4 separate regions of the Homo sapiens genome follow, and all the other regions are linked to region 1. Evidence: promoter capture Hi-C in human tissues and cell types (Jung and others, 2019). All regions are on one chromosome and are shown on one strand. Each heading gives the region's core, a stretch centred on a gene start or on the middle of the fragment in contact. The rest is flanking DNA. Distances are from core to core; before and after follow the strand shown. Region 1 holds the start of WWC1 (WW and C2 domain containing 1). Region 2 overlaps WWC1 (WW and C2 domain containing 1). Region 3 has its middle 7.5 kb from the start of RARS1. Region 4 overlaps WWC1 (WW and C2 domain containing 1).

Region 1 (5,485 bases), core at 1,427-3,926:
AACAGAAAATACTTCAAATGGTCCACATTTCATAGAGGTGTGTCTGCTGCCAGGCACGGTGCTCCGAATGCACCGCACCACAGCCCCTGAGATGAAGGCGTGCTGCTGAGTGCCAAGCCCTCACATTTCTCCTCCTGCTTTGCCCTAACCACAAGCCCAAAGGAGTCCATATTGTTATGTGATTTTTTTTCAAATCAAAGACTGAGACTTCAGTGAAGCAAGCTGCCCAAGGTCACACAGCTAGAAAACCGGGTGGGCTTGGGACCCAAACAGCCTGATTCTAGAGCTCTTGCTTCTCAACCAAAAAACTATGAAGCAAACATCAACAGAGATGAACATTTGTCAGTATCAGTCATGTTCCACATCCCAACCATGGGGAAGTTCTGAGGCTGCAGAGTGATTTAAAAAAGAAAGAAAGTCTCCAATCTGGGTGACAGAGCGAGACTCCGTCTCAAAAATAAAAAGAAAGAAAGAAAGAAAGTCAGCCAGGCAAGGTGGCTCATGTCTGTAAGCCCAGCACTTTGGGAGGCTGAGGTGGGCGGATCACCTGAGGTCAGGAGTTCGAGACCAGCCTGGCCAATATGGTGAAACTCCAGCTCTACTGAAAAATACAAAAATTAGCTGGGCGTGGTGGCGCAGGCCTGTAATCCCAGCTACTCTGGAAGCTGAGGCAGGAGAATTGCTTGAATCTGGGAGGCAGAGGTTGTAGTGAGCCGAGATCATGCCACTGCACTCCAGCCTGGGGGATGGGGGGAGACTCCATCTCAAAAAAAGAAAAAAAGAAAGTATAGGTTAATAACTGAGAACACTGCACTAGAGTCAGACCTAGTCTGTCTTATGAGCTCTGTATCCCAGGCCAACAACAAAGCATCTTGGAGCCTCATCTGTAAAATGGGTATAATAAATAGACTTTCCTATGCCAGAGGGTTGTTATGAAGATTGAGATCATGTATTCAAAGAACCTAGCACCAGGTTGGCTTTGCTTTGGGGCTACTGCTCTAATCAATAGTGGGTTTTTATGTAGTAAAGGCTTGACCCAAACAGAGGAAGTGTAGAGGGCTGTGGGAATTCCCCCATAAAGGAATGGGGAATTCCAACTTTTGGGTGTTGAGGGCCAGTCTGAGGCTGGTGTCCCTGGACTCTGGTGCCTGGTATTTATGGAATGAAGGAGGGCCAAGCACTGAGCCCCGAGGCCTGGCCTCAGGGAAGGAATTAACTATGAAGAAGGCATTTGGAGGCGAGGCTCACTCTGGTGGGTCTTTTCTGTCAAGAGGAGATGAGACCACAAACATGATTCCCTCTCTGGCTCAGCAACACCCTGGTCCATACAGCACAGGGTGCTGGTTCTTCTGGAAGACCGTGGGGCTCAGGCAAGAGAAGACACCCAACTGGGCTTCATTCGACCAGTCCAGCTTCCTGCCATATGCCGAGGGCAAAAAAGGGTTAAATTCCCACTCAGTACACAGATGTAAGAGGAGATGGGGAAGTGAACAGCCAGTTGATCATTCACTCAATCATGCTAGCTTGCTTTTTGTATTTAATGCTACATTTTAAATTTATTTATTTATTTATTTGAGACAGAGTCTCGCTTTGTTGCCCAGGCTGGAGTGCAGTGGTGCGATCTTGGCTCACTGCAACCTCCACCTCCCAGGTTGAAGTGATTCTCATGCCTCAGCCTCCCGAGTAGCTGGGACTACGGGCGTGCACCACCACGCCCAGCTAATTTATTATTATTATTTTTTAGTAGAGATGGGGTTCACTATGTTGGCCAGGCTGGTCTGAAATCCTGACCTCAGGTAATCTGTCTGCCTCACCCTCCCAAAGTGCTGGGATTACAGGCGTGAGCCACCGCACCCACTAATTCTACATTTTTAATTTCTCAAGAAACATTGTGTCTCTGATTGTTTTATTCTCTTGAACATTTTTCAAGATGGAATTTTGCTTTGCTTACTTTCTTCTTTTTCATAGCCCCACTTCTCCCAAATCCATAACACACCTACCTCAAAGTATCACAGGAAAGAAAGCCTGTGAAGCTGCTAGCCACAGCCTGTCACAAGTAAGTCCTCAATTTAGCTAACAATAACAATGGCATTACTATTACTTTTACAAAGTGTTTTCCCTGACACCCTCTGGAAGTCCTCCCAGGAAAGCGGATCCACAGCGCTCCTAATTTTAGGGACCCTGAGGGGAGCCAGCTACATTTCCAAATGGTGGGGAAGGGTGGAGGGTGGGCGAAACGTCGTAGGGAGAGTTGAATAGAAGGAGACAGATGGTGCCTGTGTTGGGGGAAGGGACCAGAGATCCTGGAAAACTTATGTTTCCCAATTCGCAAGAATGTTTCCATTTAACCACTTCTTGCCTGACTCCTGATTCTACACCACAGAAAAGCAGGGAGTTTTTAAGATTTGGGGCCACCTGTGCCGAGAGCCTGGCTACTCCGGGTGGAGAGAGACAGGAGCGTTTTAAGTACAGGCAGAGCGGTTTTTGGCCCAGCCCCCTAGGTCTGGGACGCAGGTGAGGGGCGGTCTCTCCTTCCCCTGGCAGGGGCAGCGTAAGGGTGGCCGGCGGCTGGGACTGTCCCACGAGGGGGCGCGTCTCGGGCCCTAGGACCCGCCCTCGAGGCGCTGCGCGCGGGGAGGGGACCCGGGAACCCAGGCGCCCGGCGCTCCGCCTCCCGTTTCCGGGGCAGCGCGGTTACCTGCACCGCCCGAGCCGCACCTGGCGGAGGCAGAAGTCACAAACCCGGCGAGCTCAGAGCGGTGGAGCGGAGAGGAGGGACGGCACCCGGCTGCAGGGAGGAGGGAGGCGGCAGCGGCAGCGGCGGCGTGGAGGGCGCAGCGCGCCGCGCGGCGGAGGAGGGCAGACGGCGGCGGCGGCGGCGCTCGGCTCGCTCTGCCCGGCCGGCTGGGCGCGCACCCGGGCTCGCACCGCGCCGCTGCGGACGCACATGGCAGCGTGAGAGGCCGGCGGCGGGAGGAGCGGGCGGCGCCGGGTCGGGGCTGCAGGGCCGCATGGACAGCGGCGCCACCCCGGCCGGCCCCTACTAGGGCCCCCCATCTGCGGGCGCCACCCCCCGGATCATGGTGCCTCGGCGGCCGCCCGGGCTAAGAGCGGCCGGCTGGAGCCGCTGAGCCCCCGCTGCGGCCGGGAGCTGCATGGGGGAGCGCCGGCAGCGCTTGGGAAGATGCCCCGGCCGGAGCTGCCCCTGCCGGAGGGCTGGGAGGAGGCGCGCGACTTCGACGGCAAGGTCTACTACATAGACCACACGAACCGCACCACCAGCTGGATCGACCCGCGGGACAGGTAGGACCCTGGAACCCTCCTCCGTGCCCCCACACCCCCGCCTGGGCCCCCACCTGCCCCTGGAGCCGCCGGCCGGGACTGGGAGGGGGCAGGGGAGCTCTGCGTGCCTCTTGAGCTCTCTTCAGTTCGCCACCCCCTGCTCCCCCCAACCTTCTGGAGCGCTGCTCCCGCCTCAGTGGGCCACCGAGAGGAGGCGCCTGCCGGGGAGCTGGCCCAGGCTGCCCCACCGCCATCCCCAGTTGGAGGACTTAGGCCCCAGCCGGCACCTGCCCGGAGTTTTGACCTTAAGCTCTAGCCCCGCCCGCCCCCTTTAGGAAGAGAGGTCGGGCGGGGGCGGGGGTTGGGGGAGCGACCTAGCCGGGTGAAGCCGGGTCTTCCCGGGGAGGCTTCCACCCAGCGTGGGGGGTGGGCGGATGGGGATGGGGAAGTGTCCGGTTAGAGGGGGTGGTCAAGACCCCAGGATTCCGTGGGAGACCACTGGAGAGAGGGCACTCGGCGCAGAGGAAGGCAACCTGAGGTGTGCTTTTTGACAGGTGCCTTGGAAGCTGCTGAGAACAGCACAGGGGCAGCCAGGGGGCCCTGGAACCCGAGGGTGGGGAGGAAGTGAAGAAGCGGGGGAGGGCAGATGAGGGAGACTGGTTATCCAGGAATCTGGCAGCAACTTGGAAGCTGTTAGGATGGAGATGGAGGTGAGAGGCCTCCCGGAAAGCCTTGCCCCTCGCCTCTTTCTCCTCTCTTTCTTCCCTGATCGGGGAAGGGGGCGGCGAGGCTCCTCAGCCCTGCACCAGCGGGACCTGACCTTGGTGGGTACCAGGCCGCTGTAGGTTGAGATAATGTGCAGAGGCAGATGGAGCCTGAGATAGCTCGGTGTGGCTCTTACCTCTCCAGACTTTCTCCTGGTTGTTTGGCATTTCTTTGCTCACATGCTGCACACACACACATACATTCACCCTCTCCATGTATGTCCTAGAGTCCCCGGACCACGATGTTGTTGACACGGTCTGTGGGCAGAGTGTCTTGGGGAATGCGGACTTTAAACCTTGTCTGTGACCTTGGGGGTCAGGTCCCTGTAAAGCAACCAAGGTGAATTTCTTGGACTCTTCATCTTGTGTGGTGGGGGTGGAGGTGTCCCAGAAGTGTATGTAGCAAGATGTGGGTCAAAAAAAGAATATAAGCGGAAAGAAAATGAGAGTTGAGATTCTCGGTAGTTTCTGGGAGCACTTACTTTCATTCATTCATTCATTCGTTCATTCAGCGCTTCCTGGATGCCTCCTCTACACTCAGCACCATGCTGAATGTCTCATGAATGTAATCTGGAAGGTAAATATTTAGTGCTAGAGAGCATCTCTTAGGCAAGCTGCTTCAACCTCTGAGCCTCAGTTTCCCTGTTTGTCAGATGGGGGAGCCCACCATTTCCCTGAATTTAAAAAGTTTGCTTGGAAGGGAATATTGGGATGCTTAAAACTTGGAAGGGACGTACATCAGCGCCCAACTCCCATTTGAAACATAAGAGAAAATTTGAAGCCCAGAGGTGTGATTTGCTCAAGTATTTTGATTTTTCTGCCATTCTGCGTACCAGTTCTTCACCAGCTCTGAAGTTCTAACCTGCAAACTTGTCACCCTGACACACTGCTTCCCCACCCTTACTCGGGTCAGTTGCCAGCTCTGCTACTGTGTTGGTGAACTTGGCAGCACCTTTTCTCTTGTCCTTTTCTCAGAACAGACACAAGTTCAAACATATGTGACCTGCCCCAATTTAGGTCCCTGTAGTTTACGGAGGCCTGTGTGCTGTTAGCAGGTGGACGTCCTGTTGGAGGGAAAGGACCGCCCCTGCCAACACTGATAATCATGCATCTGGGGACTTCTAATACAGCAATAGGAGGCCCCTCTCAACAGTAATTCTTTACCCTTGGAAAAGGGTAAGTAAGTAGCTTCTATGAAGAACTGATTGGCTGGAGCACAATCTCCCAAATTTTAGTGTTACATGGACCACCTCCATGATTTTTTTTTGCTATATCCACCTGTGCTATTGCTTACTTACTCCTTGACTTTAGATCAACTCACTTTAAAAATATGTGTACCATTTTCACAAATGGGAAACTAGTTATATCTATTGTCATACAGGGGAAACAAAAAAGATAGGCAAACAAAAAAAACAAAAAACCAGGGTTAGTATATTTTA
Region 2 (5,698 bases), core at 1,452-3,951, 160 kb after region 1:
TCATCTTGGAATATTGAGATCAGATTCACAGTCAAAAAGAAGAGACTCCCGTAATGGTTGAGCACTTAGTGGATCTAGACAAACCTGTTTTGCAATCCTGGCTCCACAACTAGCCTGCCACATTGAACAAGGCCTCAGGCCTCTGCCGCTCACTTTTTGAATCTGGGAAATGGAGATCATCTCTTTGAGCACTGTTGTGAGGTGTAGCACCTGGAGCTTATTGAGCCCTCAATAAATACTGGTCAATGTGGCTTCTACAGAGGGCTTTGTGGAGGGGCTCCCTGTCTCCCTGTGTGTTCACATGTTTAACAGCTCTTTTTTTTTTTTTTTTTTTTTTGAGACAGTTTCACTCTTGTTGCCCAGGCTAGAGTGCAATGGTGCGATCTCGGCTCACTGTGACCTCCACCTCATGGGTTCAAGTGATTCTCCTGTCTCAGTCTGCCAAGTGGCTGGGATTACAGGCATGTGCCACCACGCCTGGCTACGTTTGTATTTTTAGTAGAGATGGGGTTTTTCTCCATGTTGGTCAGGCTGATCTCGAACTCCCGACCTCAGGTGATCCACCTGCCTCAGCCTCCCAAAGTGCTGGGATTACAGGCATGAGCCACCGCACCCGCCAACAGCTCTTTTATTTGTAGATAGAGAGGCTGCTGGGGCCAAGGAGGAGAGCCAAGGCCCCTCCACAGCCGCAGTCCTCATCTAAGTACAGAAGAGGTTTTAATTGCAGAGTTGCGAGTAGAGATCCAAAATGCATTCTCCCCATTGGGAAAATCCTCAGGGAGATTTTATGTTTCCCCACACTCTCGCCGAGCTAGCTAGCTGGATGTCAGATTCTCTGCTTTTGGCTAGGATTCTTTTGGCTCAGTATGATAACACTGTCTCATGCTGATCAGAAGCCGGGCAGTTCTGTATGTCTTTCAGAAGTCAAGATGGGAATAGAGATAAATTACTACTTAACAAATGCAGCCTATTTGTCACACCAAATCCTTCCAACCTTGGAGTCCAAGGGAAATGGAAAGTTTTAAGGACTATCACCAAAAGTCCCTTCAGCAAATGGTGTTGGAACAATTAGATATTCATATGGAAAAAAAAAACTTGAACACTTACATCATGTATAAAAATTAATCTGTGGCTGGGCACGGTGACTCACGCCTGTAATTTCAGCACTTTGGGAGGCCGAGGTGGGTGGATCATGAGGTCAGGAGATCAAGACCATCCTGGCCAACATGGTGAAACACCATCTCTATTAAAAATACAAAAATCAGCTTGGCATGGCGGCACGTGCCTGTAATCCCAGCTACTCGGGAGGCTGAGGCGGGAGAATTGCTTGAACCCGGGAGGCAGAGGTTGCAGTGAGCTGAGGTCGCACCACTGCACTCCAGCCTGGGCAACAGAGCGAGACTCCATCTCAAAAAAATAAAATAAAATTAATCTCAAATGGGTTATAGAGCTACACATAAAACCTGAAATTATAGAAGTTCTGAAAGTGTAAGAAAGAAACTATTCACAACTTTGAGGTAGGCAAAGATTTCTTAGGACATAAAAAGTACAAACTATAAAAGAAAAAAATCAATAACTTGGGCTTTATCATAATCAAAAACTTATGATCTTCGGAAGACACCACTGAGAAAATGAAAAGGCAAGCCACAGACTTAGAGAAAATCGTGCAGTCCACATACCAGACAAAGGATTCATAGCGCAAATATACTAAGATTTCTTACAACTCAATAATAAGACAACCCAATTTTTATTTTTATTTTATTTATTTATTTATTTTGAGACAGAGTTTTGCTCTTGTTGCCCAGGCTGCGATCTCGGCTCACTGCAATCTCGGCTCACTGCAATCTCCACCTCCCGGATTCAAGCGATTCTCCTGTCTCAGCCTCCCGAGTAGCTAGAATTACAGGTGCATGCCACCACACCTGGCTAATTTTTGTATTTTTAGTAGAGGCAACTCGGTTTTATCATATTGGTCAGGCTGGTCTCGAACTCCTGACCTCAGGTGATCCACCCACCTCGGCCTCCCAAACTGTTGGGATTATAGGCGTGAGTCACTGTGCCTGGCCAAAAACCTGATTTTTAAGGGGCTGGAGATTGTAACAGACACTTCACCTGGGAAGATGGTCATAAATGCATGAAGAGTTTCTCAACAAGAAAATGCAAGTTAGGCCAGGCTCAGTGGCTTACACCAGTAATGTTCACACTTTGGGAAGCTGAGGCAGGAAGATTTCTTGAGGCCAGGAGTTCAAGATCAGCCTGGGAAACAAAACCCCATCTCTGCAAAAGATTTACTAAATTAGCCGGGCATGGTGGCACGTGCCTGTAGTACTAGCTACTTGGGAGGCTGAGGCAGGAGAATCAATCACCTGAGCCCAAGAGTTCAAGGCGACAGTGAGCTATGATCACACCATGGCACTCCAGCCTTAGCCTTGGCGACAGAGCAAGATGCTGTCTCTAAAAACAAAGAAAGAAAAAAGAAGAAAATGCAAATTAAAACCCAACAAGATGCAAGTACACACCCAGTAGTAGAGTGACTAACTATAAAGATAAACAACACCAAGTGTAGTGAGGAACTAGAACTCTTAGAACATTGCTCAGGGGAAACTTAAAATGGCAAAATCACTTTGGAGAAGCCATTTGTTGGTGTCTTTTTTTTTTTTTTTTTTTTGAGGTGGAGTCTCAGTCTGTCACCCAGGCTGTAGTGCAGTGGCACTCTCTCGACTCACTGCAAGCTCCACCTCTTGGGTTCAAGCAATTGTCCTGCCTCAGCCTCCTGAGTAGCTGGGATTACAGGTGCCCACCACCACGCCTGGCTAATTTTTGTATTTTTAGTAGAGACAAGGTTTTACCACATTGGCCAAGATGGTCTTGAACTCCTGACCTGGGGTGATCCGCCCACCTTGGCCACCCAAAGTGCTGGGATTACAGGCGTGAGCTACCACGCCTGGCCTGTTGGTGTTTAAAAGGGTAAATTTATACTTACCGTATGACCCAGTAATTCTATTATCTGTTAGGGGCTGATTTGTGTCCCCCCAAAATTCAAACATTGAAGCCCTAACCCCTAGTACCTCAGAATGTGACTGTATTTGGAGGTAGGGCTTTTAAAGAGGTGGTTAACACGAGACCATTGAAGTTGGGCTGGGACCTCATACGAGGATATTTGGACACACAGACACCAGGGATGCGCATGCACAGAGGACAGACTGTGTGAGCACGCTGCAAGAAGGCAGCCATCTGCTAGCCAGGGAAAGGGGCCTCAGGTGAATCAAACCTGCTGACACCTTGAGCATGGATTTCCAGCCTCCAGGACTGCCAGAAATCAGTTTCTGTTGTTTAACCCACCTAGTAAGTGGTGTTTTAGTTTTGCAACCCTAGCAATATCCAACAGAAATGAAAACCTATATTCATGCATAGACTTGTACATGAATGTACAAGAAGCTTTATTCATACTTGCTTGGAAATGTAAGTAATCCAAATGTTCATCAACTAAACTCTCCTTCTCTCCCTCTTCCTCCTCCTCCTCCTCCTCCTCTTCTTCCTCATCTTCCTCCTCCTTTTCCTCAACCACCCGCCTCGTTCCAACGTTTGGAAGCCCTACCCTGGGTGCATTTAAAGGCAGGTGAACAGATCTAAACATGTTGCAATATAGCCATCCAATGGAATATTAATGATAAAAAGGAGTGAACTGTCTGGGCGCGGTGGCTCACGCCTATAATCCCAACACTTTGGGAGGCCAAGGTGGGTGGATCGCTTGAGCCCAGTAGTTTGAGACCAGCCTGGGCAACATACCAAAACTCTGTCTCTACAAAAAATAGGATAATTAGCCAGGTGTGGTGGCACACACCTGTAGTCCCAACAACTCAGGAGGCTGAGGCAGGAGGATCACTTGAGCCCACTGGTGGAGGCTACAGTGAGCCAAGATGGTCCCACTGCACTCCAGCCTGGGTGACAGAGTGAGACTCTGATTCAAAAGGAAAAAAAAAAAGGAATGAACCGCTGATGCATACAGCATTGTGGATAAACTTCAGAAATGTTATGCAGACACAGAGAAGTCAGAGACAAAACAGCATATATTGTCTGATTCCATTTGCATGAAACTCTAGAAAAGTCAAATCTAATCTATAATAACAGCTAATCATGGCTGCCTAGTGGGTGATTAAACTGGGAAAAGGTAGGAGAGAATTCTGGTGGGGAATGGAATGTTCTACATCTCAAGTACAGTGGTGGTTACATAGGTGAGTACATTGGCCAAAACTCATCAAACTATACACTGAAAATGCCTCATTAACAATCTTTTTTTTTGTTTTGAGACAGAGTTTCACTCTTGTTGCCCAGGCTGGAGTGCAGTGGCGTGACCTCGGTTCACTGCAACCTCCACCTCCCGGGTTCAAGCAATTCTCCTGCCTCAGCCTCCCGAGTAGCTGGGACTACAGGTGTGCACCACCATGCCTGGCTAATTTTTGTATTTTTAGTAGAGATGGGGTTTCACCATGTTGGCCAGGCTTGTCTTGAACTCCTGAACTCAGGCAGTCTGCCTGCCTCGGCCTCCCAAAGTGCTGGGATTACAGGTGTGAGCCTGGCCCCCCAAAACTTTTTAAAATATATCTTCAATCATCAAAAGGATTGGAAGCCCTACCTTGGGTGTATTAAAGGCAGGTGAACAGAGGCAGAGCGGCTTCTGGGTGGGTAACCAAAGTGCTTTGTCATCACAGGAGGTATGAGGAGACCAGTGAGAATGAGGCAGTAGCCGAGGAAGAGGAGGAGGAGGTGGAGGAGGAGGAGGGAGAAGAGGATGTTTTCACCGAGAAAGCCTCACCTGATATGGATGGGTACCCAGCATTAAAGGTAGGAAGGGCTGGGGGGATAGAAGGGCTGTCGTGGGGAAGGAACCTTCAATCCTTGTGCCGAGGCAGTCAGAAAAGACTCAGAGCTAAGTCTTGGCTTCCAGCATCAGGGCACAAGCCCTCATAATGGAGTGGCCTTTGGGTCATTCTGGTGATAGTAAACCAGGAGAGGCCAACTCACCCATCTCTTTTCTTCTGCCCTCTGCATTTTCCATGACTTCTCTGGACATAACTCAAGCCTTGCAGTCAGACGGTTTGGGTTTGAATTCTGGCTCTGATACTCCCTGGCTGTGTAGTCTTAGGCAGATGACTTCATCCTTCTCAAGCTTCCATTTTCTCATCTCTAAAATGGGCACAATAATACCAACCTTGCAGATAGCCTCTAAAAATATATTTCTTTATGTGGGTCTGCCCACAGCGCGACAGGAAAAAGGCCAGACTCCCTTTGCTCCCTGCTTCCCTGCTGCACTAGGGTCACATTACAGCAGGATTCACTCTCCACAGACAGCTGGCTCCAGGACTCCTAGAGCTAGAGCACCTGCCGTGTTTGAGCGAGGCTGCAGCTGGAGTACCGCACAGAGGTGCCTGGACACGGCAGGTGCAGTAGGACCTGGGCCCTCGTTCTAACTCCTCCACACCAAGGGGGCATCATTTTGCAATTTCTCCAGCCAGTGGGCGTGCCCTTTCTTAAAATTATATAAAGGTACTATTTAGGCTGACAAAGGTCCTGCATGTAGGTGTTTTTGTTTGTTTATGTTTTCCTGATGACTACTGTGCACGGGCAGTAAAAACCTGATGGGTTGGTTTTAAAAACAAGATTTGCCAATTGCCTTCAGAATTCGATGAAAGCAACC
Region 3 (5,146 bases), core at 1,096-3,595, 190 kb after region 1:
ACTTTGGGAGGCCAAGGCAGGTGGATCACCTGAGGTCAGGAGTTTGAGACCAGCCTGGCCAATATGGTGAAACCCCTTCTCTACTAAAAATACAAAAATTAGCCAGGCGGGGTGGTGTGGGCCTGTGGTTCCAGCTACTTGGGAAGCTGAGGCAGGAGAATTGCTTGAACCTGGGAGGCGGAGGTTGCAGTGAACCAAGATTGTGCCACTGCACTCCACCTCTGGGCGATAGAGTGAGACTCTGTCTCAAAAATAAATAAAATAAAATAAAAATGGCCTGTATTATTTTTATTCATCATCTTCAGTAAGACCTCTCCACTCATCACCATAAAGATGAGGACATTATGGCACATACTTACCCTTTCTCCTTCCCAGCCACAACTTCTAATTTTTCTTAGTTACATTATTATTTTTATATAGTTTAAAAAAGGGTATCACATTTACGCACTGCTCTGTAATCATGTAATCCTAAAGCTTCCTCTGCTGTGAGTTGATTTAGAAAGTTAAAAACTAGTAAACAGCATTTACAGATTGATGGGGAAATCAACATTATTCCCTATGGAAACAAGTAGTGTGTGATCAGAGCTGGGTCATTAAAACTTTACCACTAGAAGGAAAATTTAAGGTTCCAGTCATTCTTTCCCTCCCCATAGCTTTTTTCATTTCTTCCTAGTCAGTTCATTTTCTCTTGAGAAGTAAAACCAAAATCCTAAGCCCCATGACGGACTGAATGGATGTCCTATCCTGTTGGCCAAGGAGAGCCCGGGACGGCATCTGGAGGTGGGACACACCTCCTTATACCCCCGCCCTCCCTAGCTTCCAGTAGGCATTCTTTCCTAAAATCTAAACAGAAACCAGACCTTTGGAAAGCCTGGCTTCACCGCTGATTTCCACCAACTCCCCCTCCCTTTTGCCATTTCACCACAACAACCAACATGCATTCCTTCCTGATAAGAGGCCACCCACCACTGAATGGTTCTGGCCAGTTTACAACGGATGTGCAGGGAGGGTTTTCATATCCTCCCCTTCGCCTTTTGACATCAGAGGCCCAGAAGCTCCACCCTCAGATCATGGTAAGGACACCATGTTTTGTACAGGGGTCCCATGAAGGGGCATGAAGCTCAGTTGCGCAGGCACACGTTTCTCCTTTCATAGATATTAGTGACCCCTCCTACAGCTTATTAAATATATATATTTGGCCACCTGCTCAGCACACATTCTTTTTTCCTCTGCCCTTCCCTCAAAGTGCATGTTTTCAGCTACTGGCTGGAGGCTACACTTTCCAGCCTGTCAGAGTGGCCACCTGCAGCATGCAACTCTTTATGTGAAATAAAGCTGTCCTCTCCAAATTTATGAACCTCATCATTCTTCTCTTGACTCTTTTTTTTTTTTTTTAAGACAGTCTCACTCTGTTGCCCAGGCTGGCGTGCAGTGGTGCGATCTCAGCCCACTGCAACCTCCACCTCTGGGTTCAAGTGATTCTCCTGCCTCAGCCTCCTGAGCAGCTGGGATTACAGGTACCCGCCACCACTCCCGGCTAATTTTTGTATTTTTGGTAGAGATGGGATTTCACCATGTTGGCCAGGCTGGTCTCGAACTTCTGACCTCATGATTTGCCCACCTCTGCCTCCCAAAGTGCTGGGATTACAGGCGTGACCCACCATGCCCAGCCACTTGACACTCTTAACCCATGTCCTCATTTTTAGACTCCTAATCCACCAGCAAGTTCTGCCAATTCTGTCTCTAAAATATATCATAAATCTATCCATTTTTTTTTCTGCTACCATTTTGATTTATCATTGCTGACCTGAACTTCTTGGAATTCTGAGATCAAGGTCCTGGCAGGTAGGGTCAGTGTCTTCAGAGGACTCTTTCCTTGGCCACTTTCTCCCTGTGTGTTCACATGGTCTTACCTCTGTGTGTGTCTGTATCTGCGTCCTAATCTCCTCTTATGAGGACACCAGTCATGTTGAGTTAGGGCCCATCCTCATGACCTCTTTTTTTTTTTTTTTTTTTTTGAGATGGAGCCTCTCTCCATCACCCAGGCTGGAGTGCAGTGGCGCGATCTCAGCTCGCCACAACCTCTGCCTCCCAGGTTCAAGTGATTCTCCTGCCTTAGCCTCCTGAGTAGATGGGATTACAGGTGCATGCCACCACACCCAGCTAATTTTTGTATTTTTAGTAGAGATGGGGTTTTGCCATGTTGACCAGACTGGTCTCAAACTCTTGACCTCAGTTGATCTGCCCACTTTGGCCTCCCAAAGTGCTGGGATTATAGGAATGAGCCACTTTGCCTGGCCCTCTTGACCTCATTTTAACTTATTACTTCTTTAAAGACCCTATTTCCAAATAGTCACATTCTGAGATATTGGGCGTTAGGACTTTAAGAACTTTGGGGGAATACATTTCAGCCCATAACACCACCCTTCTTTTTTTTTTAAGACGCAGTCTCGCTCTGTCACCCAGGCTGGAGTGCAGTGGAGCAATCTCAGCTCACTGCAAGCTCCGCCTCCCGGGTTCACGCCATTCTCCTGCCTCAGCCTCCCAAGTAGCTGGGACTACAGGCGCCCGCCATCACGCCCGGCTAATTTTTTGTATTTTTAGTAGAGACGGGGTTTCACCGTGTTAGCCAGGATGGTCTCGACCTCCTGACCTCGTGATCCGCTCGCCTCAGCCTCCCAAAGTGCTGGGATTACAGGCGTGAGCCACCGTGCCCAGCCAACACCACCCAACAAAAATTCACCACCCATCTACTCATCCAAACCCTCTAATGGTTCCCATTGTGCATAGAATAAAATAAAAAACCCCTGCCTTGACTTTACGTGGGTAAAGGGAAAGGGAAAGCTTTCCCCTTGGCCTCCTGAAGTTTCACTGGAAAATCAACTTGCAAAAGGCAGATTAGTGGGTAAAAAGGCATACAAGTTTATTTGCTGTATATTCACAGGGTATATACACAGGGTATTTACAAATTTGCTGTGTATTACTCAGTGCAACCACTGAGTAATTAATTGCTCACCCCGCAAGGTGGTGCCTAAGTGTATATGTCATCCTGGCAAAACAGATTATGGGAGTGGGGGAAGAGGAGTTCTGTTGAGGGGATTTTTAGGGAGAATGGATGGATTAGGGAACAGATATTAACGTGTACATTATCTTGTGAAAAGGTCTGTTCAAGTGTGGCTACACTGTTGGTTTTACAGGAAAGGGAAGAAAAAAGAGTCGTCCTTGATGTGCCTTACTTAGTGTGTCTGGATCTCAGGCAGATAAAGAAACTGTAACTTCTTTGGGAAAGATGGGGTGAGGGAGAAGGTCAGAGAAACCTTGAGTGTTCTTCGCTTCAGTATGTCAAAGCACCATATTTTGGGGTATCGGTTTCCGAGCCCCAACAACTTACAAATTCTTATATGCTCTCACTTTTGCCAATCTCTGCATCTGGGCCAGTACCCAATCCCCCCCTCCTTTTTTTTTTTTTTTTTTGAGACAGAGTCTTGCTCTGTCACCCAGGCTGGAGTGCAGTGGCACGATCTCGGCTCACAGCAACCTCCACCTCCCGGATTCACGCCATTCTCCTGCCTCAGCTTCCTGAGTAGCTGGGACTACAGGCACCCACCACCACGCCCGGCTAATTTTTTGTATTTTTACTAGAGACAGGTTTCACCGTGTTAGCCAGGATGGTCTCGATCTCCTGACCTCGTGATCCTCCCGCCTCGGCCTTCCAGAGTACTAGGATTACAGGCGTGAGCCACCGCGCCCGGCCTTTTTTTTTTCAAATGCGGTAATGTATCACTTAACGATGGGGACAGATTCTGAGAAATGTGCTATTAGGCAATTTTGTTGTGTGAGCATCAGAGAGTGTACTTGCACAAACCTGGATGGTAGAGCCTACTCCACACACAGGCTATATGGTGTAGCCTATTGCTCCTAGGCTCCAAACCTGTATGGCACATTACTGTCCTGAATACTGTAATGCCAACTGTAATGCAATGGACGTATTTGTGTTTCTAAACATAGAAAAGGTACAGTAAAATTAGGGAATGAAAGATAAAAAATAGGGCCAGGTGAAGTGGCTCACGCCTGTAATCCCAGCACTTTGGGAAGCTGAGGCGGGTGGATCACCTGAGGTCAGGAGTTCAAGACCAGTCTGGCCAACATAGCGAAACCCTGTCTCTACTAAAATTACAAAAAATGAGCCGGGCATGGTGGTGCATGCCTGTAATCCCAACTACTCAGGAGGCTGAGGCAGGAGAATCACTTGAACCAGGGAGGTGGAGGTTGGAGTGAGCCAAGATGGCGCTACTGCACTCCAGCCTGGGTGACAGAGCGAGACTCCATCTCAAAACAATAATTAAAAAAAAAAAAAAGGATTAAAAAAAGAACACCTGTATAGGGGCTTTCCATCAATGGAACTTGCAAAACTGGAAATTTCTCTGAGTGAATCAGTGGGTGAGTGGTGAGTGAATGTGAAGGCCTAGGATATTACTGTCCATTACTGTAGACTTTAAACATTGTACACTTAGGCTACACTAAATTTACTTTAAAAATTTTGGCCAGCCATGTTGGCTCACGCCTGTAAACCCAGAAGAGGCAGGAAGATCCCTTAAGCCCAGGAGTTCAAGACCAACCTGGGAAAATGGCGAGATTCCCATCTCTACAAAAATAGAAATAAAAAATTAAAAATGTTCTTTCGTCAGTAATAAATTACCCTTAGCTTACTGTAACATTTTTACTTTATAAACATTTTAATTTTTTAATTTTTTGCCTCTTTTATAATAACAGTTGTTTAAAACAAAACAACGTACAAAGGTACAAAAACATTTTTATAGCCTTATTCTAGAGGTTTTTTCCCACTTTTACAACTCTTTTGTTAAAAACTAAGACACAAACATACACATTAACCTAGGCCTACACAGGGTCAGACTCATCAAGGTTGTCGCTAGGTGATAGAAATTTTTCAGGTTCATTATAATCTTATGGTACCATCATCACATGAGCAGTCCATCATCGACCATACTCTAAACTTAGCTCCTGCCTCATTTGCATTTGCTAGTCTCACTGCATAGAACCTTCCTACTCATTCAATTAAGAAACACTTTTAGAGCAATGCCCTGTGTCAAGCACTGCTCTACATTGAGAAAGTGGCTCAGAGCAG
Region 4 (5,754 bases), core at 1,798-4,297, 140 kb after region 1:
TTGGGTCAATACACACATGGTTGTTCTTTTTGTTTTCTTTTGTTGGGGGATGATATGATCTCAATTTTTTTTTTTTTTTTTTTTTGAGACAGGGTCTCACCTGTCACCCAGGCTGGAGTGCAGTGGTGTGATCTCAGCTCGCTGCAACCTCTGCCTCCTGGGTTCAAGCGATTCTCCTGCCTCAGCCTCCCAAGTAGCTGGGATTACAGGTGTGTGCCACCACGCCCGGCTAACTTTTGTATTTTTAATAGAGATGGAGTTTCACCATGTTGGCCAGGCTAGTCTCAAACTCCTGACCTCAAATGATCTGCCCGCCTTGGCCTCCCAAAGTGCTGAGATTACAGGCATGAGCCACCACACCTGGCCTTCAATATTTTTTAATAGGAATTAGTTGACAACATTTCCATATCATGAAATTTCACCCGCATTTATGGGTTCTTTTTAAAAATTCAGACAACTGGCTGGGTGTGGTGGCTCACACCTTTAATCCTGACACTTTGGGAGGCTGAGGCAGAGGAATCACTTGATTCCAGGAGTTCAGGACCAGCCCAGGCAACATGATGAAACCCCATCTCTACTAAAAATACACAAAATTAGCTGGGTGTGGTGGTGAACACCTGTAGTCCTAGCTACTTGAGAGGCTGAGGTGGGAGGATCACCTGAGCCTGGGAGGTCGAGGCTACCATGAGCCCCGATCATGCCACTGCACTCAACCTGGATGACAGAGTGAGACCCTGTTTCAAAACAAAAAAAAAATTTTCAAACAATTGGCAGCTCTAGCTCTACATCCCTGCATGGCAGCAAAGCACTGGGCCTGTGCTCTAGAGCTCACCATAGGCCCCAGGGCAGCCAACAGCCACGTCCTGTGACTTTTAATGGAGAGAAGGAATGAGAGAGATGAGTGTGTTACTAATAGGTACTTCATATGCCCCTTTTCATTTCAGGTATGATGAGAAGAATAAGCAATTTGCAATATTAATCATCCAGCTGAGTAACCTTTCTGCTCTGTTGCAGCAACAAGACCAGAAAGTGTGAGTATGTAGCTGGACAGGTGTATTTCATACCCTAACCCTCTGGAGTTACCCCTGGGGGTCACTTTTCTGCCCTGTCCTGATCCAGTTATGGGCCTTGTCAAGGCACTGTGGGTTTGTACTGCATATGACTGTGATGCTGAATGTCGGTGCTGTGCATGTGAATACAGGCACAACGGCAAGCACACCAACTGTAAAGACAAGCACTCTCTAGATGACTGTGTGAATTCCTGCCCCATTACGTGCTGAGCACCTGCTGCATGCCAGCTCTAGGAATGGGGTGGTGAGCAGATCCTTCCTGGGCCCTACCCTCCTGGACTTTGAGCCTCATGGAGAAGAATGGTCACAGTCTGTTTTATCTTCTCCTAAGCTCAAGTGTTTCTTGCAGAGAGAGATAGGTCTTCTGTTTCCAAGAGTCAACACCAGTCACTGCTTCTCTTGGAGGGGTGTGACTGCGTGTTACCTTGATGCTGGTAGGATGCAAACACCTGCTCTGTCTGCCTGTGGGCTCCTCCCATGGTAGATGGGTTTATCCTTTATTGCACTCATCTGCCTCCAAGTTTTCTCTGATCGTAAGGCCTGGAGGGTGGCAACAGAAGCTTATGTGTCTGTGGTCTACACTCAGCCAGCCTGTGAGGGTGGCACATGTGGGAAGAAGAAAGGGCAGGAAGGCGGACAAAACGGAAGGAAGACAAGATGGGATGCTTGGGTCAATTTCAGTCTTCTGCCCACACAGACAGTGCCAGGCTGAATAGCCTCCTCCATAGCTCACTGGTACTCATGCAGGGGCATCTGTGGGATAATGCCTAGAAGTGAAGGGTCTGGACCAAAGGACAAATGCATCTGGAATTTTGTTCGATTTGTCAAAGTTCCTTCCAGTGTATAGGGGCCTGATTCCCCAGATTCCTCACTTCTACAAACTCTCATCCACTGTTGTTTGCTTAGGGATTTCAGCAGCTGTTTAGTCCAACATTTTAGCCCCAGACATGGGCTGACCCAAGATTTCCTGCGGTTCTGTCTCCCTCTAGGAATATCCGCGTGGCTGTCCTTCCTTGCTCTGAAAGCACAACCTGCCTGTTCCGGACCCGGCCTCTGGACGCCTCAGACACTCTAGTGTTCAATGAGGTGTTCTGGGTATCCATGTCCTATCCAGCCCTTCACCAGAAGACCTTAAGAGTCGATGTCTGTACCACCGACAGGAGCCATCTGGAAGAGTGCCTGGTAAGGGCCGTGTCTGGCTGGCTGGCTGGCTGGCTGGCTGGCTGGCTGGCTGGCTGGCTGACCGGCCTTCTGTGTTTATGGGGATTGGTCTACCCTGAGCTTCAGGAAGAAGGTTCGAAGGAGACGCAGGTTGTGCTATCAATCAGGCTCATCTTGGATTCTAGGCAGCGAGGCTTCCACAGGTGAATGTTGTTCTCAGACTTAGGGTGGGAGGGAAGGAGCTCTTTCACAAGAGGAAGAGTAATGGACCTGAAAGTGCCTTTTAAAACTGCCAGAACCTGGAAAAAGCCACATACTGCAGCTTTACTATACAGCATGAGAGATTAGATAAGAAGCACAGACTATGGCTGTGTGGTGGCTTATATCTGTAATCCCAACCCTTTGGGAGGCCAAGGCCAGAGGATCACTCAAGTGCAGGAGTTCGAAAGCAGCCTGGGCAACACAGCAAGACCCCATCTCTACAAAAAATAAAATTAGCCAGGCATAGTGGTGCATGCTTGTAGTCCTAGCTACTCTGGAGGTTGAGATGGGAGGATCCCTTGAGCTGCAATGAGCTGATCATGCCGCAGCATTCTGGCCTGGGCAACAGCAGAACCCTGTGTCAAAAAAAAAAAAAAAAAAAGCACAGAGTAATGAAAGCAAACACATAGGCATTCACATCCCACCTTTACCACTTGCTGTATAGCTGGATGACCTTGGGCAAGGTACTTAACATCTCTGATCCTCATTTTTCTTATCCCTAAAATGCAAATGATAATGCCTCCATCATGCCCACTGGAAGAATCTTTATAAGGATTGAGATAGCACCCGTAAAACACCTATTCAAGTGTCTGATCCACAGTGGGTTCTCGTTTAGTGGGGCCATTGCCAGCCTCCTCCCTGAAACTGACCTTCTCCGGCTTCCATCTCTCACTGCATTGGCAGGAGTCAGGACTGGGGATGAAGTAGCCCAAGTACATTTTGTCCTAAGAGACAGGCAGACCCAAGTGCAGACAGATACTCAGCTTTCCCATCTGTAGAAGGGGGATTTATATAATAGCTAACTCGGGCTTGTGATGTACAAGTGAATTAGAAGAAGTAAAGGGCTTTGTTAACCCTGATGCCATTTAGTGTTAGAATATTTTAATGATAACTCAACTGTGGGCACAAAGGAGCCCAAGTGTGGGCATTATACCTAGAAGGTCGCTCCACTCATGCTCAGATCTGTACTGGGAGCTTGTTGTGTCCCCACCCCTGTGTCTGGGGCTGGGGATTCAATGGGGAACCAAACAGACAAGGTGCCAGCATTGATGGCTAAGATGTAAACAAACTGTGAGGAGGGCCGTGTTGGAAATGGATGGGTTGAAGTGATGGAGGAAAATGTGGGGTATGTGCAAAGGGGAAAAACAAGATGTATACACCTCTCCGAGCCTCTCCTGCCTCCATTTCTGGAAGCTGGAATGTAGAGCCTCTCACTGCCTTCTTGGAGGGCTCGCCCCTTTCTCCTGCTGTAAATCACAGACCTTTGCCCAGAGAAGGGAATCTCTTTGCTCTCCATCCTTGCCTTGATCTGCATGCGCTATAAAACCCTTCTCTATCATGGCATTGTGGGGCCACATCCTTGGATTGTGGCCTGGGGCTGTCACCAGCCTTGCCCTTCCAGCTGTGTCTCCTCACAGTCTTCAATTCTTAGTCTCAGTTCCCTTATCTGTAAAATCTGGCTCATACTGCCTTCCTGGAGGTGGTTCTCTGAAGACTAACTAAGGCGCTGAAGCAGCGCTTCAAACTGTGCCATGCACACAAGTTACCTGGAGCTCTGGCTAAATGCAGATTCTGATTCAGCAAGTCTGGAGCAGAACCTGAGATTCTGCATTTCTAATAAGCTCCCAGGTGAGGCCAATGCTGCTGGTTCCTGGATCACACTTTGGGTAGCAAGAATGTAGAGCAGCAAAGTGTTTGCAGTTTGTGCTCACTGGATATCGGTTCCCATCTCTCCTTCTTAGCTGGGTACAACACAGCATCACTGCTATTGATGTTGTTACTGACAATAATGCAGTAGTTAATACCAGTAGGTTGCAGTTTATATGGCAGGCACTGAGTTAAGCTCTTTACATGCATTATCTGTTTTTTTTATTTTAGACTGAGTCCTGCTCTCAGTCTCTGGAGTGCAGTGGCGTGATCTTGGCTCACTGAAACCTTCACCTCCTAGATTCAAGCAATTCTCCTGCCTTAGACTCCAGAGTAGCTGGGACTACAAGCGCCCACCACCACACCCGGCTAATTTTTGTATTTTTAGTAGAGGCGGGGTTTTGCCATGTTGGCCAGGCTGATCTTGAACTCCTGACCTCAAGTGATCCGCCTGTCTCCACCTCCCAAAGTTCTGGGATTACAGGTGTGAGCCACCACCCCAGCCCATTATCTCTATTGATCCTCACTCCAACCTTGCAAAATAGGTAGCGTATTCCAGTGGAGAAACTGAGGCACAAAGAGGTGAAAGACCTTTCCTGTCACAGTTAGGAAAGTGGCAGAAGCCGTATTTGAACCCCAGCAGGTCTCCCTCTGAAGTCCACACACGTCAGCGCCTCTGTGTTGTCTCTTTGCCAGCACAGGGCTCCCTGGAGCCCAGAGATGGGGGTGGTGACTTGAAGGGGTTGGCAAGCCTGGGCTCCTCCAGCGAAGCATTCCCTTGGCCCTGGGCATTCCTAAGCGAGAAGAGGCTCAATCCTATTTTCTTCTCCTAATTGGATGCCTTTTATTCCTCCTTCCTAATTGAAGTCTGGTCATTGCTGGTTGCCATGGCAGCAGCCAAAGCGCTCATCTCACTGTGGCTTGTCTCTGCCTGCGGCCAATGGGAAACCTCCTTTCCCATATACGGTGGGGACATGGAGTGTCAGGCTGTCGTATTCTGGTGGCTGGAGGAGGAGAGGAAGTGAGATGGGAGGAAAAAGGCCTGTCCTCTCCCACGCAGAGACTCCGGACAGCAGGATGTGTGGAATCCCCAGTCTGTTTTCAGCCAGGCAGCAACAGCATCTGTACTGAGTTGAGTCTATGTGTCTACCAGTGGGCTAAGAACTTCATGTGCAGTATCTCATTTAATCTTCGTGATGGCCCCAGGAAGATAAGGGATCAAGGCCCAGAAAGGCTAAGTAAGCTGCCAGGTCATCCAAGGAGAAAATGGCAAAGCCTGGATTTGAACAGAGACTCCAGCTTCCTTATGTGTAGCCATCTCACCATGCTACTTCTCAGGGGGTTACTATGAGTGTCTCTCATGTCCCCAGACCCAGATTACAGGTTTGGAGGAATACACAGCCCACCTTCCCAATATCGCAGGCAACAGTTCCACCAAATGCCCTGCATGGCATCACAGGGAGCCTAGTTGCCCACTGCTCTACTGCTGAGCTCAATGCCACCCAGCCCGGGCTCTCTCGAGCTAGCCTGCTTCTCAGGCCCCACTGACGTCCCATGGTTCACCATTACAACCGTTCCCTTGCCTCCTCTCACTTTGGCATACTAACTTGGCAAA

What was found. Contacts are between HindIII fragments. The study calls those that stand out against the background at their distance.
Region 2: a contact is called between a fragment that was not itself captured here and the fragment with the promoter of WWC1 in region 1, in 2 of the 25 tissues and cell types used here (H1 embryonic stem cells and bladder).
Region 3: a fragment that was not itself captured here is called in contact with the fragment with the promoter of WWC1 in region 1 in 1 of the 25 tissues and cell types used here (stomach).
Region 4: a fragment that was not itself captured here is called in contact with the fragment with the promoter of WWC1 in region 1 in 2 of the 25 tissues and cell types used here (IMR-90 fibroblasts and stomach).

What each region holds. Positions count from the first base shown.
Region 1 is chr5:168,288,969-168,294,453 of GRCh38, forward strand. It overlaps WWC1 (WW and C2 domain containing 1), which reads left to right and starts at 2,677. Exons shown (of 23, transcript NM_015238.3): 1 at 2,677-3,303. The coding sequence starts at 3,185. RefSeq lists an enhancer at 1,226-1,305 and silencers at 2,450-2,969, 3,070-3,489. The HindIII fragment of the contact is 18,450 bases long and covers 1-5,485 here.
Region 2 is chr5:168,449,256-168,454,953 of GRCh38, forward strand. It overlaps WWC1 (WW and C2 domain containing 1), which reads left to right. Exons shown (of 23, transcript NM_015238.3): 18 at 4,713-4,845. Among named protein-coding and RNA genes, the nearest start is that of RARS1, 34 kb to the right of the region's middle. RefSeq lists an enhancer at 5,231-5,400 and a cis regulatory region at 5,316. The HindIII fragment of the contact is 3,206 bases long and covers 1,099-4,304 here.
Region 3 is chr5:168,476,371-168,481,516 of GRCh38, forward strand. No RefSeq gene overlaps it. Among named protein-coding and RNA genes, the nearest start is that of RARS1, 7.5 kb to the right of the region's middle. The HindIII fragment of the contact is 6,213 bases long and covers 1-5,146 here.
Region 4 is chr5:168,429,193-168,434,946 of GRCh38, forward strand. It overlaps WWC1 (WW and C2 domain containing 1), which reads left to right. Exons shown (of 23, transcript NM_015238.3): 14 at 945-1,031; 15 at 2,060-2,252. Among named protein-coding and RNA genes, the nearest start is that of RARS1, 54 kb to the right of the region's middle. The HindIII fragment of the contact is 9,210 bases long and covers 1-5,754 here.